Linked DNA regions of Homo sapiens: all the other regions are linked to region 2. The links are contacts of gene promoters, found by promoter capture Hi-C in human tissues and cell types (Jung and others, 2019). All regions are on one chromosome and are shown on one strand. Each heading gives the region's core, a stretch centred on a gene start or on the middle of the fragment in contact. The rest is flanking DNA. Distances are from core to core; before and after follow the strand shown.

Evidence for each region. Contacts are between HindIII fragments. The study calls those that stand out against the background at their distance.
Region 1: a fragment that was not itself captured here is called in contact with the fragment with the promoter of RSPO3 in region 2 in 1 of the 25 tissues and cell types used here (mesendoderm cells).
Region 3: a fragment that was not itself captured here is called in contact with the fragment with the promoter of RSPO3 in region 2 in 1 of the 25 tissues and cell types used here (H1 embryonic stem cells).

What each region holds. Positions count from the first base shown.
Region 1 is chr6:126,063,722-126,067,024 of GRCh38, forward strand. It overlaps a transcript of TRMT11 not described here. Among named protein-coding and RNA genes, the nearest start is that of TRMT11, 79 kb to the left of the region's middle. The HindIII fragment of the contact is 7,363 bases long and covers 1-3,303 here.
Region 2 is chr6:127,117,128-127,120,684 of GRCh38, forward strand. RSPO3 (R-spondin 3) reads left to right here and starts at 1,544. Exons shown (of 5, transcript NM_032784.5): 1 at 1,544-2,162. The coding sequence starts at 2,066. It overlaps LOC105377989 (a long non-coding RNA gene), which reads right to left. Exons shown (of 14, transcript XR_002956387.2): 4 at 1,774-3,557. The HindIII fragment of the contact is 6,946 bases long and covers 1-3,557 here.
Region 3 is chr6:126,109,989-126,113,505 of GRCh38, forward strand. It overlaps a transcript of TRMT11 not described here. Among named protein-coding and RNA genes, the nearest start is that of TRMT11, 130 kb to the left of the region's middle. The HindIII fragment of the contact is 3,828 bases long and covers 208-3,517 here.

The sequences.
Region 1 (3,303 bases), core at 445-2,944, 1.1 Mb before region 2:
GTCTCTAGACAGAAGTTGTCATTCCTAATGACTTTGTAAATCACTCTGAGCCATGGAAAAATAAACAATCGGTGAGCAAAAGCTTTTACAGCCCAGGGTAGAAATCTGGGAGGATCCGAGCCTTCTGGGTCTGAAGCTTGAATGTGTCATCAGAGTGGGACTGGGGTCGGAGATCTAGGAGCAAGAGTGAGGCATGGGATGTTGGATCAAAACAGGGAAGTGGGCCGAGGAAGGACCACAGGAGGAGCAAGGCCATGTCACTGATGTTGCTGTGTCCTGCAATATGATTTGGCATCTTACATTTCTGAAGCTGCCATTGCAGGGTTCCTTCAGTCAGTGGATTAGAAGGAGCTAGAGGTTGGCAACCTTTGGTGAGGAGAAGTTAGGAGAATGGTGGGTCGTGAGCACTGGGGGAGGGAGGGAGAAGATGGGGGTGAGCTCTGAGTGTTGGTTCTGACTCATGAGCAAAGGTGGGCATGGGGTGGAGGGAGAAAGCGCACATGCAACAATTTGGGACCCTTGACCTCTGATGTGTCTGAGGGCAGCCCACGTGTCTCTGAAAATCTGCCTGTGAGATGACCGATACCCTGGATTAAACCACAGCTCTGTGGACCCCTTTAAGCACTTGTAAACAGCTCCAGAAGGATTAGTACCTTCTATTCTCAAAACAGGATTCAAATAAATGTAATACACAGCTGCTGGGGTAGCCAAGAGCCTTGGGCTCCTGGATTGAGGCTGTGTAAGGGTAAGTGAGGCAGGAGCTATTAGATCACATTTCCTGACTGACTTGCATTCTGAACTGGAAAGACAGTCTCACAGGAAAAAATTAATTTGCCTCCAAGATAAAAAAAAAAGTCACCACGAAAGATTAGAGACAATTTTGAAACTGTATTTAATAACCATGACAATTTATGGCAAGATAAAAACGCCCAAACCATAAAGTGCAAATACCAGGTCAGACACAGGGTTTCTGTAGGCCAAAAAAAATCATGTAAGTTAGGCCCAGATTCATTGAAAAGGAAGGAGACAGCTCTTAGGCTGCAGATTTATCCTAAGGTCAATGTTTACTTTAAAAATCTGTGATAATTTGTTCCACCCAGAGGTGGTTTTTGTTTTATGTTCCACATCTTAATCATTTGTTTAGCAGCCTTGTTTTATGTTTGTTTAGTTAGAACCTTCTGGTGTGGAGCAAGGATCATTAAAAAGTATAATTAGCTGTAATTACTTAATACTAGAACAGAAACTGCTTTTACTTTAGATGTGTGAGCTGATCCCCCAGGCAGCGTTGGTGATCCTGCTTTGAGTCTAGGAGCATTTCCATTCACAGCTGAGTCCTTATCAGCAGAAGTGTATAGAGCCACCGGATAATATCTCACTCACAAAACGTGAACCATTTGCCTATGAAAATGAGAGCTAAAAAACCAGAGAACTGAATATGAAACTTTTTCTTTTATTGTTAGGTATATAGTTCAACAAGTCTACCTACTAAAAAGGGAATATGTTAGCTAGAGTAGTGTAAAGGAGAGAAGATAATTGGTCAAATAATCTTGTTCTTCTATCACGTGTCCACTGCTGGAGAACTCCTGCCACGATGACGAGGCAGGGCTGGAGTGGGAGCTGAGTCCTGCAGGCTGAGAGGCAACCACAGAGAGCCACGCCTTCAGGCAGCATGTAGGATACCCTCTTCGTGTTTCACTCACTGGTAGTGACCTGCTTTTGGTACATCTGGAGATTTCAAACTTCAAAACCTTATAACCTACACTTTAATTCTGGGGAACTGCTGGCTAAAGTTTGTGGTTAAGCAACCTTGGTTCATTTCTTGACTCCTTCATTCATTAATTATTATGATCTTGAGAAAATGACAGTTTCTCTGTGCCTCAGTTTTCTTAATTGTGAAATGGGAATAATAGAAGTACTTGTCTCCTAGGATTGTGGGAAGAATTATAAAATGAATACTTGCAAAGTATTTAAAACAGTGCCTGATACATAGCAAGTACTCAATAGATAATAACAGAAATTATATTATTACTATTCTTTAGCTGTATACTCTTGGGCAAGTTGCTTTGTTTCTCTGATGTTGTCCTTCAGACGAGATTGGGAGCGTTGAGGGTGGTATGACTGTAGACTGAAGTTGTCCTTCACGTGTACAATGAAAATAATAGTACCTATCGTGAATTTATCATGATCATAAAAGGACCGTTGCTGAGACAGATGCTCAGACTATAGAAAACCGGAGCTCAAATGCTGCTAGACAAAGATGGGAATATCCTCGGTGCCTGCATAGCTATTTACATTTGCATGGGAGCAGAGGCTTCTTAGGGAAAGGCACTAGGGTTCAGACCCTTTCCTTTGTTTGACGGTTGGAGGGAGCAATGATCAAGGCTGGATTGTGAAAGTAGGGGAGCAAGGAAACCCTCTAGAAGAAACTCACTTTGAGCGCCAGGACCAAAGCTGACCTCTGCCTCCAGGCCAGGGTGTGGCTGGATCCTGTGGGGTCAGAACTCATCCTGTCTGGGCCTGGCTGTGAGTGAATCACAAGTCCAGGCCCTTTGGGTGTGGCCTTACATGGACTGTCACTCAGTTTGGGCTGCCATAACAGAATACTATGGACCAAGTGACATCAACAACAAATACCCATTCCTTACCGTTCTAGAAGCTGGACGTCCAAGATCAGGATGCCAGCATGGCTGAGTTCTTGGGAAGGGCGCTCTTTGTTATGTCCTCATATGGCCTTTCTTGGTGCATGTATGTATGTCGAGAGGGAAGATGGGAGAGGGAGCTCTAACCTGTTTCTCTTCTCACAGGGACGCTAATCCTATCATGGGGGCCCCACCCTCATGACCTCATTTAACTCTCAAAAGCCCCACCTCTGAAACCATCCCACTGGGGGTTGGGGTTTTAACATAAATTTTGGGGAGACACAATTATATAGTCTGTAACACGGACTGAGTTATAACCCTGTAGTCAGGATACTCCATTCCTTTGCCTAGAGATGCTTGTAAGCCCTAGGTGAATTGTTACACTTGTCCTGAGGGCAGGGCAGTGGACAAGTCACATGGCTTATCAGTGATGAGGCTTGGGGGGTGCCATCCACCCAGCCAGCCAGGACATTGGTGTCTGGATTTTAGCCACAGTGAAAAACAAGGGTGAATTGCTTAATGGCTGCAATGCTGGGCAACTGACCAACTTCATTCATGACTTAAAAAAAAAAAAAAAATAAGGGCCGGGCACAGTGGCTCACGCCTGTAATCCCAGCACTTCTGTAGGCCAAGCCGAGGCAGGCGGATCATGAGGTCAGGAGTT
Region 2 (3,557 bases), core at 294-2,793:
ACCTGTAGTGCTAGTGTAGTCCTTCAGATATTCTGTTAAATATAATACATAGGGCAGGCTTATGTTAAAATCACTTGAGGCTTGTGACTTTCGACTAAATACTTCTTCAGTAATTACTGAAAAGTTCATCGGCTGGTGCTACCGGAGAAAAGACGTGGAAAGCTCACCATTTACTAACGACAGCCAGGGTGTGCCCCACTCAGGGGTGCCGGCCCTCTGTTCTCCCATCCCTGGGTGGGCCAGAGCATCTTACTCTCTGCTGCCTTGGGCCTCCACTTGGGCTGGGAAGATAAGAAAGTAGTGGACCTTCCCCTTCCTTCCCCAAGACTGGGAAAATCTTTCCAAATCTTATTCCCAGTCTTCCAGATGCGAGATTAGAATGTACAACAGATCCTCTCAAGAACACTGGGAGACCGAGGGTGGGAGAGAAAACTCCAAGGGGGGCGAGCTGACTATAGAGGGAATTGCCTGAGCGGGAAAGGAATCTTCCAAAGCCACAGAAAAGCCTTGGTTTGGAAGAAAGCCGTAGCACAGCTGCATTTCCAACGGGAAGGTCCTGAGCGCACACACTTCTGGGTCCTCCCCGCTCGGAGCAGGTAAACCTCAGAGTAGCTGACCGGCAGCACCCACAGAGTTTCCTCCCCACCACCCGCCTGGCGACCAACTGCAGCCGAAAAGAAAGAAAGAAAGGAAAGAAAGAAAGAAAGAAGAAGGAAGGAAGGAAGGAAGGAAGGAAGGAAGGAAGGAAGGAAAGAAAGAAAGAAAGACAAAGAAAGAGGAAGGAAGAAAGAAAGAAAAGAAAGAAAGAGAAAGAAAGAAAGAAAGAAAGAAAGAAAGAAAGAAAGAAAGAAAGAAAGAAAGAAAGAAAGAAAGAAAGAAAGAGAGAGAAAAAGAAAAAGGGAGAAAGGCAACAGAGGAGAAGGTCAGGAAAGCCGGGAACAAGTCAGCAGCCAGAAACTCTCCAGCGATCTGCCAAGGGGGAGAGGGTAGTTGCGCGCCGGCGCTGGGGATGGGGTGGGGGCGCTGGGGCACAAGGGCGCAGGGGCGCACGGCCACCGACAGCCGGGTGCGCCTAGCTTGAGGCCGCGGAGAGGAGCCGAACTGGGATGGGTGGGGGGTCTTCGGCCTCAACACTGCCTGCCAGCCCCAGTGCGCCCAAGTCTCCCCGCCAGAGCTGCCCTTCTGGAGGGGCTCTTCGCACGCACTGCTTTCCCCATTCTTCTGGCTGGAATTCTCCGGCCGTCACTGCAGTGTCCAGAGATGCTGCGCTGTAGACCCGGGACCCCTTAGGCGCCTCTTCCCGTCCCTCTGCCAAAGCGCAACGCCTGTACTTTTCCAGCTCCCTCTTTCCCTCTTGAAATTGAAAGTTATTGAGGTCGCTCAGGGTTGTTGCTCCAGCAGTTTCCTTCCCCGCCCCCGAGCTCCCCCCCGCCCCCCACAGCCATCCCCCCTCCTCTCCCCCTCCCTGCCCTCCTCTCCCTCCCCCCTCCCTGCCCTCCTCCTCCTCCTCCCCTATGTGGTGCTCCCGGGAGCCCAGCCCAACACTGGAGCGTCTCCTGCTCGCGCACGCCAGAAGCAGCTCGGGGTCTCTCCGCCGCCCCTTGGCCATGGCCGCTGTGCCGACGGCGCCCGCTCCCCTGCGCTCCAGGGGCCCCCGCCGCTGCAGCCGCAGCCGCCGCAGCTTCTGAGCCCAAGGGGCCGCCGCTGCAGCCGCCGCCGCCGCCGCTCGCCCGCCCGGATCCCGCCTGCGGCAGTTGCCGCACAACATGCTACCTGCGGCCGCCCCGGCGGCTCCTGGAACCCCGGTTCGCGGCGATGCCAGCCACCCCAGCGAAGCCGCCGCAGTTCAGTGCTTGGATAATTTGAAAGTACAATAGTTGGTTTCCCTGTCCACCCGCCCCACTTCGCTTGCCATCACAGCACGCCTATCGGATGTGAGAGGAGAAGTCCCGCTGCTCGGGCACTGTCTATATACGCCTAACACCTACATATATTTTAAAAACATTAAATATAATTAACAATCAAAAGAAAGAGGAGAAAGGAAGGGAAGCATTACTGGGTTACTATGCACTTGCGACTGATTTCTTGGCTTTTTATCATTTTGAACTTTATGGAATACATCGGCAGCCAAAACGCCTCCCGGGGAAGGCGCCAGCGAAGAAGTAAGTGCAGGGTTTTTTACGCGTTTGCTCCCTCCCGCCGCGTTCACCTGTCGGGTCGCTTTGCCTGTCCGGAGCCGGCTCCCAACTGCAGCGGTCCTCCCGCCCTGCGCCTCGCAGAGGAGATGCAGGTTCGGGCTTTGGGGGTATGGACGGCGTCTTTCACCCTTGCCTCTCGGCGCCCCTGCCTTCCGCAGCATCCTAGCCGGTGCGAGGGGCGGGCGGACGCGGCGCTAAGGTGGCTCCCGCCCCATGGTAACTTCAGGTTCGCGGGAAAGTTCGGTCCTGGGTTAGACTCGCACCCGGGATTTGTGCTTTCCTTTTGAGGATCGGACAGGGGCACCCAGCCGAAGGCACTTGGGACTCCCAGACGCAGGATGCCTCTGACCGCTGAGTAAATGACAAGGGAGGCGCGGCCGCGGTACCCGCTCACCTAGCGCAACCGCCTCGCGCGGGGAGACCTCGGCTGGGCCCTTAGGCTGGACTCCGGTAGCCGAACGCCCGCTACCCGGCCAGGAAGCCAGGGAGCGAGCGCCTGCGCGGCCGCATCCCCGACACGCACCAGCGGAGCCAAAGGGCGCGCGAGGCGATGGGGTTCGCGTGTCTGCGCGTTTGCAGAGCTGCCGGACGTCCCCCGCCCGAGGGTTGAAGACAGCAAAACCCCAGCTGTGGGGAGCCGGAGGTGCGGAGTTTCCAGGTTCTCTCTTGTCACATGTGAGCGTCTGTACCATCTCTGGCCCTTTCAAGTGTGTCCCCTGGGACACACACGTACAGAGAGTGGGGTCTCCCTAAAGATTCGCCTCCTCGCTGCCCTTAATGCTGTTATTTGGAGGGTTGGATTGTGATGGCTTCTTAAGACGGTGTCCTAGCTGGAATTAAGCGGACACCACCACGGCAGCCTCAACCTGGGTTGGTCTGTCTGAAAGGTAGAATCTTCCCAAGATGAAGGGACAGATGCGAAGGTGTCACCTCTCCTCGCTCCAGGGTAGCCTGGCGCCCTCGCTGCTCTAGTGTCTGTGTTCCCATGGGGAGTCCTTTCGCAGATCTCAGAGCAGGGGCGACCCTGGCTCTATGGTTGGGGGCGCTGGTGGAGAGAGGGAGGAGGAAACTTCTCCTGGAGCTCGCGAGGGGCAGGAAGCGATGCTGCTGCTCTGGGCTCTCGCACCTCCGCGGCGTGCAGCCCAGGCCCAGCGGCCCCACCTGGTTTCCCAAGGGGATCCCTCTCCCAGCGTCCCGCCCGGGAAGCCTTTCGGGGCAGACGTCGGGGCAGCGCGGAGGACACAACACCGGCTTGTGTGAGATGGAAATTTAGTAATCGCTTCTCGGCCGCTGTTTGTCCCTGCCCTGCCCCTGGGCATGAGGGTCCCCTGAAAGCTCCCTTTGTATTGCTGGCCTCGG
Region 3 (3,517 bases), core at 872-3,371, 1.0 Mb before region 2:
TTTTAGCCTCAAATCTGGCTGGGTCTGAGAGACTGAGGAAGAGAATCAGAAGATTTCAGCTGGCGGAGAAGCAGGGCACAGTGTGTGGACTGAGCTTGATGGCATGATCAGCTGATGCTGCTAAAGACCTGAGACTCTTAATCAGCAACTGTGCAATCAGCAATAGCAGTTGTACCCACCTTATCTGCTATGGAGGCATTATTATTGGCTTTTTTGGGGGGCATTTAATGAAAATTTCTTGCTTTCAAGGTTATTCTTCAACTATACATCACTTGGGCAGTGCTGAGAAACACATAGGATGATTTGGCCTGGGCTCCATATCCTTCCCAGGAATATCTTAAGACTGAGAAATATGGTCTCTTTTCCATACCTCCAAGTTGCTTTTACATGGATGAAGAGAATCAGAATGCTCAGTGAAATATGTATTCAAAAAGAAATGTACCAGAATAAAATTACATTAGAAAATAATTGCTTCTAAAAATCATCACCCATTCTTACCCTCTGTTATTCTGTTCTCTTTCAACTGTCTGTATTTTAATCCCTTTCTTCTTCCCTGATGTTTTCTATTCATTTAATTTAAGCAATGTTTCTGGATACCATAGCAATAGCAATGAGGTGTTGTATAAACGTACAATGGAGCAGAATGGAAATGCTTCCTATGGTAACAGAAACCATAGAAACATGTGCGTGTGTGTGTGTGCATGTGCGTGCACACACACGTGCATACAAAGCTGTTTTGGGGTCAAAGCTTTGTAGAGTTCATGCAACTAGGAAAATGAAGTGTTTCACTGTGATCACATTGCTATTTGTATCTATTGTCATCATGATTTAACATTTATTGCATGCCTATAGTCCCCTGGACAGACCCTGGAACTAGATGTCAACTCTACTTAGTGGATTTATGTTTGAAATTAGATAGCAAAGCCACAAAATGGAAAAAGATGAGAATACTTCCAAAACAGAAATATTGAATAATGCATTTTCAGAAAAATTAGGTAAGGAGAAAATGAGTTTGACCCAGGCAGTTAGGAATGAAGGATATGGGAGGAGACTTAAATGTCTAGATTAGAGATGGTTTGCAGCCATTTCCAAGAACCCTGGGAGGGACTGCTTGTGCTGCATGATCTAACACTTTAATCCTCTTCTGCCATGGCTCAGACCCCATGGGGTGGAATCTTGATGAGGAGACTCCCTGTCTTGGATAATAATAACAAGCTGTCTTCTCTGTAGGCAAATTTTCAGGTGGAAGTCTCACTCTACCACTCTCATAACCAATGCAACAAATAATCAAGTTCTCAAGCTGCAAGGAAAACTGAGGGGATTATTTTTAAGGATGTAAAGAACATTAAACAATGAAGAGATAGTTTCTCAGAGTAAGTTTTTTCCCTCCTTTGCCAGGTGCCTGATATCATCTTTCTTGTCTACCTTAGACACCCCCCACACTTTTTAATATTAAAAGTCTCTTAATAACAAAAGTAAACAGCATGTTATTTATGGAAACTGCACAACATTAGCTTTGCTAATTACATGGTTACTCACTTTCCCAGCACCAGATCACCTCTTATTTGTTTCCAACTACTGTGGCCACCATGTGTTTTAAGTGTAAGACAGAAATAATAAACTGCAGGTTTCCAGGGTACTCACGTATTATTTCTGCAGTTCACACAGGACATGTACCATCTGGGTTTGAAGGGCACATCATTCCAAGGCGGAATGGAGTGAGTAGGGCTTTCCCAGTAGAGCCACTGACTCTATGGGGAAATTTCAAATGGAGTTTTGGGGTCAGAGAGACCTAAGTTCAGATGCCTGGCACAATAACTTCCCACTTACATGAAATCTTCTTTGCCTTCTCTGTAAGTAACTTCTCTGCCTCTTGGCTTACTGTATATAAATTGGGTATATGATGCCTAATTTCTAGTGTGGCTCTGAATCTTAAATGAGGTGATACAATATGGCACTTGCCGTAAGGTAAGTTATTACTGAATGATGGTCTTAGTTTCTTTCTACTCCATTTCTGTCTCTTCTAAACTCCTAAGAACTAAGCTGAGAAGGCATAAAAGATGACACACAGACCATTCAGCTCAAAATCCAGAATAAGAAGCCCAAACTGGAGTATATTCTGCAGAAGATTTGCTGTCTTAAGGGAGCTACTATTAGCTCAGCTTTAACCCTCCTTCCCATCTCTTTCTGGTTAGTGAACTGGTGCCACCACCTGCCCATTAGAGAACCTGAGCTATTTGTTCAGTGATTCACGTCTCTGGATTCAGCACTGAGCCTGCATAAACTCCCAACTCAGTCAGCAACACTGTGCTAACATCTACTAGGAATGGTTCAGTCCCTGTAGATCTGAGAAATAATTCCTGTGGTTACATCAACTGTTTGGATCTTTGGATCCATAAATTATTTCTGTCTTTTCTTTTTTGAAGGGTTTTCTATTTGAATGCTGTTTTATCTCAAAAGGCAGTTGGTTCCATTCTGACATGGTAGAGATATGAAGCTTCCTTCAACTGACACAGTTTGGCTAGATGCCAGTCAGGAGTACCTCCAAGATATTTTGGCTGTAGGATAAGTTACAGATAGCCTGGCCTTGCCATCTGCAATGATCGGTTGTAGTAATAACAATCTCTGGGTGCACAATTAACCAATTCTGAAAATGTGAAACTTATTAATTATCCTGCATTTTTGCTTGGCTGCTAGCTAACTCTGTCTAGATCCTGTTTCTTGGCATTCTCTCATCTGTCATTTCTACCACAAATCCCCTACAGATCGTTAGTTGCCTATGTTCCTCTACTTCATTGTCTTTCTTTCAGTCATTGACTGTTACTGAGATTTTTTTTTTCATGAAATCAGAGTTTTAGTATTCTTTTTTTATTATAGGGAAAAGAAACCAAGTCTCCTTGAATCAGTTTATCCCAATGTCTTCTGGTTTTCTATGTTGGCTACAGTCAAGATAACCTATTACTAAGGTAGGTTGTGTGTTTCTAGACCACCAAATCTGTTCAATAGACCTTTTTGCATCTGAGTGGACAGGTCCTAGATGACACTGGAGACATAGAGGTGAACTCCCTCCCTGGCCTTCAGGTACTCACATTGCATTTGGGAACCTAGGCATTAAGCAAACAACCATGATACAATGTGCTAAGTGCTATCACTAAAGTATAAACAAAGTGGTTTGAGGGGCGTTATGTTCCCCCATATTGACCTGAAGCTGTAGTATTTTGACTGCTTCTAGAGTACCTGTATGTCTCTGCATGTCCAGGCAGTCTGATTTATTAACAGGGCCCTCTTTTAATCTTGGAGTCTCTATGTGGATGATAAACTGTATGGTCTTTCTATTTATAAATCAAAAACCAATATAGGAGGCTAGTTTAATTTGTGAGCAAATATGTTTCTATTTATTAAGAATTCTTGAGTTGCCTGCCTCTACATTAGTGGTTGAGGCAGTGGAGTGAGTTCCTGATCTGACTCACCTTTCTCACCAACAGTGATACTTGTACTTTAGCATATACATGAGAGA